Regions from separate parts of the Homo sapiens genome. Here region 2 is linked to region 1. The links are contacts of gene promoters, found by promoter capture Hi-C in blood cells and fetal thymus (Javierre and others, 2016). All regions are on one chromosome and are shown on one strand. The core of a region is centred on a gene start or on the middle of the fragment in contact, and the rest is flanking DNA. Distances in the headings are between cores, read along the strand shown.

What was found. Contacts are between HindIII fragments. The CHiCAGO score rates a contact against its expected background, and 5 or more counts as called.
Region 2: a contact is called between a fragment that was not itself captured here and the fragment with the promoter of ADAMTS19 in region 1, in 1 of 17 cell types (megakaryocytes). The highest score is 5.2, in megakaryocytes.

The regions. Positions count from the first base shown.
Region 1 is chr5:129,458,240-129,462,153 of GRCh38, reverse strand. ADAMTS19 (ADAM metallopeptidase with thrombospondin type 1 motif 19) reads right to left here and starts at 1,856. Exons shown (of 23, transcript NM_133638.6): 1 at 1,672-1,856; 2 at 397-1,052. The coding sequence starts at 1,762. It overlaps ADAMTS19-AS1 (ADAMTS19 antisense RNA 1), which reads left to right and starts at 1,465. Exons shown (of 2, transcript NR_125748.1): 1 at 1,465-1,729; 2 at 2,075-2,595. RefSeq lists an enhancer at 1,935-2,897. The HindIII fragment of the contact is 6,646 bases long and covers 1-3,914 here.
Region 2 is chr5:129,734,982-129,739,249 of GRCh38, reverse strand. It overlaps ADAMTS19 (ADAM metallopeptidase with thrombospondin type 1 motif 19), which reads right to left. Exons shown (of 23, transcript NM_133638.6): 22 at 4,141-4,268; 23 at 567-2,183. The coding sequence ends at 2,032. Among named protein-coding and RNA genes, the nearest start is that of MINAR2, 11 kb to the left of the region's middle. The HindIII fragment of the contact is 785 bases long and covers 2,451-3,235 here.

The DNA.
Region 1 (3,914 bases), core at 607-3,106:
CACGAAGGAGATTCATCAGTGAGCCGACTGGTTGTCTTTCGAGTTCCTAAAAGACATCACGTGGAGCGCTTAGTTTGGAAAACTCTGGAGAACAGAAAGAAGTTGAGCCATTGGGAAGAAGTTACGAAAAGGCAGAGTTTCACGCAGTTTTGAAAGACACATAACCATCTGGAAGGAGAAGGCCATTTATCCACCCAATTAAACTTCCGATTTACACAACTGCCCTGGAGATGTTCCATGGGAGGCAAACGATGTAGACACCTGGGGGTGCAGTCTAGGGCCAAGCTCAAAAGGAGCACACTGAAAGGGGAGAAGGTGCATGCAAATCATCCTGACCTATGGGCAAGGAGAGGAGCAGCAGGGGAAAATGGAGAGCTAGGGAAAGAAGGCGCTTACCAGGCCACCTCCACAGGTGCTGAAAGAAGCCAGCGAGCCAGGGTGCCGCAGCACAGCTCCGGTGTAGAAGCAGCCTGCGTCTGGTGGCGCGGGAGGTTGCGGGGCGGATGCTGCCCCCGTGGGGCCGGGGCCGGGATTTGGCCGCTGTTCCACTGCGAAGCGCGGCGCCAGGAAGCGGCCGTCTCTCCGGAGCAGCAGGTACAGGTCCCGAGAGAAGGCCGGGATCCGCAGCAACACTTCGTCGCCATCCGGCTCGGCATGCTGGGCCGGGGGCGGGGACGGGGGCGGCTGCGGGGGAGGCGGCGGCTGCCACGAGGCCGGGGCGCCCGGGGACAAGGCGGCAGCCCCGCTGGATCCCCGCGGCAGCTCCTGCGACTCGAGCTCCTCGTCCTCCTCACCCTCCGACGGCGGCGGGGGCCGGAGCCGGGACTCTGATCGGCCCTCCACGGGCTCCTCCAAAGGCACCGGAGCCACAGAGCGCACCTCGCGTGAGCTGCCGGCAGCCTGCGCCCGGGCGCTTCCGCCGCCCCCAACGCCGCGCACCCAGCCCGGGTCCGCGCTGCCCCCGCTGCCGCCAGCCGGGTCCACCGGCTCCCGGCGCCAGAGCGCAGGAAACACGACTTCCCACTCCTCGCGGTCGGGGGCGAACTGCAGCTCTGCGGGCGGGGCAGACAGAAGTGCGGGGCTTAAAGTGCCGCGGTTCCAGTAGCACAAACATTTCCAAGCTCACAGTCCATAGATACAGGGCGCTCGCGTTGAATGCAATGGAGACCACCCGTCTAGACCCTGAAACTCTGCAACCCCAGAAGCCTTGCGATCAGATTACAGACCCCAGCATTTTCAGAGTAAAAGTACGATTATATTAGGGGCGGGGGAGGGGGAATCAAAGTTTGGTGACCGCACTTCATTGTTGAAAAGAAAACCGATGCAAAGACTCCAGCACGAGTAAACGATTTCTGAAGTGTATGCTAGAGCAGAGCGTTGCTATCAACTTAGGTACGTTCTAATTTTCCTCCAGGTGCTGTAAACGTACCTTTGCAAATATTATTGCTCTAATTAGAAGGAAACTATTCCACATACGGTTAAAACGAGGCCGGCAGAAGTGTGCTTCATTTCCGAACTTGACCCCTTAACCTGCACCTCAAGCTCATTTTTATTGCTACCCACTGAGCCCTGCTCTCCACGCACCGGTTGCACCAGCCCTGCCGACCCGTACGTTCGCGGTCTCCGCTGGGATGGCTGGAAAGGAAGCGAGAAAGTCACGGAAGAACTTACCTGAAACGATCCCATTCGACAGGAACCCCAGCTGGTAAAGGAGGCAGCAGCAGCAGATGTGAGTCAGGCGCATCTCGCGGTTCTTCCCCATACTGCGCTCCCGCGGCCGCGGCTTCTCGCCCGGCGCACGCCTCCAGCGCGATCCACTCCGGGGCGCAGCGGCCTCCCCGGAGCGCTAGGAGGCCGGGCGGCGAATTTGCCCAGGCCCTTTGTCTGCCGGGGGAGGGGGTGTTGGGGTGGGGGGGTAGGCTGTGTGACTCCGGGAGGCCGCCGAAGCCCTGGCGGGGGTGGGGTGGGGTCGGGTTGGGGGAGGAGCGGGGGAGGCAGCCCCGCGGCCCCGCAGCCCTCGAGCTCCCTGGCGAATTAGGAGATGAGTCTATTTTCTGTGTTCTGGACGCTGCAGGAGTTTCCGAGGCCGAGCAGGCTAGTGCTGGAGCCCCACAAGACAGACCCACAGCCAGCCGAGAGCCGGGAGTGCTGCCTCTGGACAGGCAGAGGACTGCCCGGCGCGGGCAGGAGAGCTGTGGTGTCCGAGCCGAGGCTCGCCGCCTGCACCCGCGCGGAACGGGCGGAGGCTGGTGTCACAGTCTCAGCAACTTGGTGTGCCAAGCTCCGCACACTCCTCACGCTCCTTAGGACGCACCGCTGAAGGCTCTCACCCGCAGCGGCGCGGGAGGGAATGAGTAGGGAGATGGGAAGACACGACTAGAGAGGTGGGTTGTAGAGCAGAAAAGAATCAAGCACATCTGACCAGAAAAAGGGACCAAGGGGTGCCCGCCAAGCGTGACTTTGCGGGACAAAGGTCCCAGAACACCGTGCACGTGCTCAAACGCCGGTTGGGATGGGGTGGGGACCCAAAATCCCTCACCTGACTATTGATTGGCCACTCGGGAAGGCCTGATTTGCATCCATCCCCTGCCCCCGTGTGCAGGTAGAGGTGCCTCCCCCTTCCCATCCCACTCCTCAATCCAGCGCCTCTTTTTGTCAAATTCGCACATCACACAAGGCAAAAATTAGTGCAGACTTGACCACAAAACTGAGGCCTCATTTATCAAAGGCCTTTGATTTGTCTTCCCATCTTTTTCGGAATTTTCTAAGCCCGGAGATAATGTAATTCGTCATGGAATATGCTTTAAAGTTTCCCAGGACAGTAGGCACCCTTAGGTTTCAGAGCCTCTTTTCCTTCCTTGTCTTTCTAGCTCCCCATTCATCAGTACTATCAGTTTCTCTCCTTCCCCTACCCCACCCCATTACACACACACACACACACACACACACACACACACACACACGAGTCCTAAAAGGAGTAAGAGTAAGGGAATCAACATTAAACATTATATTCTAAAGATCTCAGACCAGGTGAGATTATTTTGTCTTCTGTACTTTTTACTTGTACATAAAAAAATATGTTTTTGCTGTTTCTGTCCTCTTTGGGGCAATTCAACCCCATATATTTTTTTTTCCTTTGTTGCAATTCTCTTCATGGTACCTACTCCCCTTTCCACAACTCTCCCTCAGCCACATCAAAGCGTTCACATCCGATTTAAGGATGATTGATCTGAACTGCCATTTGCATCCTCTGGACTAGGCCAGACACCTAGAAATGATAATTAATGCAAATCAGTTTTTTTTTTTTTTAATTCCAGAACTGAGGTTGGTTCACCACTTCCTTTGTTATTTTACCTTCTGTTCCTTGTGTCAAAGGTGACTACTATGCCTTTAAGGGAAGCAGACGATCTTATTTCAAAGGAAAGCCATTGTTTGAATTAGCTGAGTCCTATAATACTTTCTTTGAGTTGTCCAGAGTTTAGAAACAAAGGCAAAAACACTCAAGGTGACTTTGTCAAGAGTGATCTGCCTCTAAACGCTGTCTTATAAAATCTCTAATGCTGGAGTAACTAACATGTGGGTTTCCAGATGCTCAAGAAATATCTGGGTTACTTAGAAACCTAAATGCTTTTTTTCATGAGACTCAATTTTACAGATTTAAAGCTAGGCAAAAAATCAGAGGCAGTTTATTTTTTGAGTATAGCAAGCTATTTAGATTGAAAGCTAATTTCAATGAAACACCTCCAGTAGGAGATGAGTCTTAACACGTTTCTCACACATATTTTAACAACAACAACAAAAAGCAGAACTGAAGGAATAATGCATATTAAATTGTATATATTTATTAGAGTACATTCATGATTTTTTAAAACCAAATGAGTTGTATAACTAAGTTAAATATACTCAGAAGCACA
Region 2 (4,268 bases), core at 1,594-4,093, 280 kb before region 1:
AATATTGTTTTTGTTCAAGGAACTTGTGTGACAGCAAATAAAGTGTGGACAGGGGCTCACTGTTGTGTAAATCTCTCATAGTACCATGCTCCCCATCACCCCGAAGCAGATGGCCTAACAGAATGATATGTCTTTTTAAGAAAGGTTTAGTCTCCTACCAGGTGGATGAAAACACTTTGGAGTCTGAGATAATGTTCTCTAAGATGTATATTTTCTGAACTATCAACCAATATATGGTGCTATTTCTACCTAGATTTATGGATTCAGGAGTCAAGGGATGGAACTTACTATTTCAATTTTTCCTTCTCCCATTCGTCTACTATTTCACATAAAATTTGTTGATATTGGTTAACCCTATATCTCAGCAATTAAATTAAAGGACCTACATAGGAATGGTCAATCTAGGAAAAAGGTGACCTCGATATTAAAACACATTTATTAAAATGAAGGCGAAAAATATTAATGACAGAAATGTAAAGAACTGTGAAGCTTTTGAGGTTTTACCTTACTTGCAACTTATCAAGTTAGCCTGTTATGATTTCAGGGTAGAAGACATGAGACTCCTGCATTAGACACAAAGGACTTTATTACTCACAGCGATAGTAGTAGCCAGGGAATCAGCTTTTCCTGTACTGGCTCGTTGAGCCCCATTTCCCAAAGGGTGACATGAAGAGAGCCAGGTGACCTCAGAACATACATTGGATTGTCTTATAGTAAAGAAACCCCAATTTTAGGGAACCTGAAACTTTTATAATGAGAAGTATGTTTGCCCTTTGCTCCCAAGAGACATACTATCTTCCAAGGCAGTTCACTCTATAAACATCCTCTAGAAGATACTCCAGAACAAAAGTAGACAGTACCTTTGTTCATCAGACATGTGGATATGTGACAAGTCTATGAAGAATTGTCTCTCAGTGGGAAGTTTTACATATTTTATTGAAAAATCTAAGAAATCATGTGAATCATGTATAATATTTTCTCACAAGAAAAATTTTAAGCTGGCTTTTGAACGTTTCACATAATTGTAAAACTTTTTAATTTTTAAAAGGAAGAAAAACACAATGAAACGACCACCGTATTATATGCTTTCTGTTTTTCCTTGTTCCTAGGGAAAAGGCTGAGAAATACTAGTAAATTTTCTAATTATGATTCGTGAGGCTAAGTACTATACTCTTTAATAAATCTGCTAAAAAGATACAGGGAAATGGGTGGATCAATGTTTTCTTTGTTAAAAATATTTAAAAAAAGCTAAAATCTAGTGATAACATGTTAAAATAATACACATTTTTTGTAAGATGTCACCATTTCTAACGATTTCTCTACACTATATCAACAGTGCAATTGTGATTCAGTGTAAATCATTACAGTGTTTCATTGTTACAATACTTGTGTTCAAGTACATGTTCATGAACATGATCAAAGTCTCTATTTTGACTTTTCTTTTCCATATCAAAATAAGGTTATAATTACAGCAGAATTTTTCCTATGGATGTCTATAAATCTGAACCAAATTCATAATACATTCTCTAAAAACCTGTTCAACAGCATGAGGTTCATTATGTTTACACATCTCCTGCAGGTGACAGAAAATGGGCTAATTCTGCAGCAGGACACCAAAAAACAAAAATAGTTTCTCTTCATATACACCTAAACTATTATGCTAAGTCAGTATACATTCTGGATAATTCAATGTTATTGGTGGGGAGAGAGTAGCACCTTAGAGATAGCCCTAACAAACAACGAAAACTTGTTTTAAGTATAATGATCTATTTTTTTCCTTTTTCTTTTTATTATATTACTGGATCCAACTAATTCATTCATATAAAATTATTTATGAAGCCATATAGTATAAATCAAAATGTTTGTGTAACCAAAACAAGCACCACATTGGATGTTTGGCAGGCAAAAAAATAAATTAATTTGATTAAATTATATGTAATCTGATAATATTTGGTCTGAAAAACATGCTAGTGTGTGTGTTTATAAATAATGTAATTGCCAAGAGCTGTGATCCAGCCAGCCTGCTAGAGGTCAACTCTTCTGCTGCAGCTTTTGGGCATAGAAGTCCCTGCATGTTTCACAGCAGCGCTGATACCACCGCATGTCCTGACATAGGTTCTTTTCACGTATCACTCGGCAGTACACTGGCCACTGATCTCCCAGGCACTTGAAAGTCAGAGCAGCTGTGAAACAGAACATAGTGAATTCACTCCATGCAGATATCATATATGTCAGTAAAAACCAACTTCAAGCGTTTAAGTGGGGCGGATTTTGTACACTCTCTTTGGTTCATTTATATTACCTTCTGGAATTTAAACAAGAAAGAGATACACACACATACACACCTCCTATGATTAAAAAGTAAAGAATGAATAATATTTTTACTTATAAATGTTTTTAGGCCTATTAAAGATATAATTCCCAGGTTCAATGTGTTGTACTTTTAAGCTTCAGTTTCATAGCTTGCATTTAAGTTGCTTTTGAATTTTAGTAGAGAAAATTAAAAAGAAAAATAAATGTGCTCAATATATCTACCTTTATGTGAATACAAATTAATAAATACTATTATTAGGGTTGAAATTACAAGGAAACAGCAAAGTAAAAATATGCTCACAGTTATTTCATATTCCTAGTTTCCCCAGATAACAGACACATCTAAATGGATTACCTGGAGCTGTGATTTCAGGCTTCTATAAAAATTAATGCATATCATCACAAGCGACTGAGATTTACAGCAATAGTTGAAGTGTTTGAAATGAGAAGTTGGTATAGAATATTTGGTCATGTAGACTTGGCCTCCCTTTTTGTAAAACAGTGTGTTCTGGAATGCATAATGAAAGTCACTGCTGCTACAATTATTTCTTTTGCATATGAGAATGAATCGTATTCTAATATAATTATTCTATTTTTAAACACCTTAGATTTTCCTAACCATTGTGCTTCTGTATTTTGGGGTATACCTTCAAGGAATAATAAATAGAGAAAATGCAATTTTAACAAATTTTTTCTTTTAATCCATTATTTTCTGCCATGTAATATTTCAAGGACTCCAACTAATTGTTGGAGAAAGGAATTATACTGCTATTGAATAAATGGATTTAGTACATCTGCTCTAGAATTGCTTAACTTTTTGTCTTAATTAGTGTTATTCACCTTGAACTCATTATTTCTTAGGAATGCTAGTTAATTATTTGGCCCTAAAAAGAGAATTTTTGTATTTCGAAGAAACCAAGCTTTCACATTTGATTGAGTCTTATGCCTGGAAAAATACACATGATAATTTATCTTCTTACATTTTGGTAATATTATTTTGTATGATTCCAATTGTTCCCCTGGAGATTATATGCACAGGTTAAAACCAAAGGTATTAAATATAAATTAACCCACTGACAATGAGGCAAGAGTGCTGTTAAATGCTACTAATAGTCAAGATGTAAATGCTAAATCATTCATTAGTATTTGTTATGCAAGTGTAGGCTATATCTACTTAAAATATGTAGTCTAATTCTCAATTATGGGTTAGATTAAATAACAGAAATTGAGGATATATATATGAAGGCATTTCATAACATAAAACAATGTAAATATCAATATAGTCAATATTACTAGAATGTATTTTTTATTTAGTATCATATTCTCAAAACTTAAAAAGAAAATAGAACTTCTTGTTTAATGGTGTAGATCCATGCACCCATTCTTCTTGAAAGACATTTTTTAGTCTGTGTCCCTCCAAAGAATAATTTATACCCAGATCACAAGGAAGGCTATCAACCATGGAGAAATCTAAGGCTTACACTACAATCTCATCTTTCCACAGATATTAACTTAATTGATAGTTCTGCCATGAGATTGATCCGAGTCTAAATTTTGGTTACAAAAAGACCTGGGGTGGTGTGGCATTATTTCCTGGACCTGGCTCTGATTGGACAACTTTGGGAATCAAAGCAGTTTAAGTTTTTAGGACTTTTTTACCCACCTGACCATTTGGACGAAATCATATTTAAATGGATCCAATTTAGTGCAAACCAAAATAATCAGTATAGATTTACAACTATCAAGGTTTAAAGTAATATACAAAATACAAGAAGCCATAAGCATTTCTATGTTTTTCAAAAGCATCTTTTTTTTTTGTCTGCTTACCCAGTCTGGGTGATGTTATGGTATTTACATTAATTTTCTCATTGCAGGGTTGAAGATGGCATGGCCTGTATGCTGCAGGTTTTTCTGAGGAAAAACATTCATTTCCATGTCTTCCTGTGATCTTATGC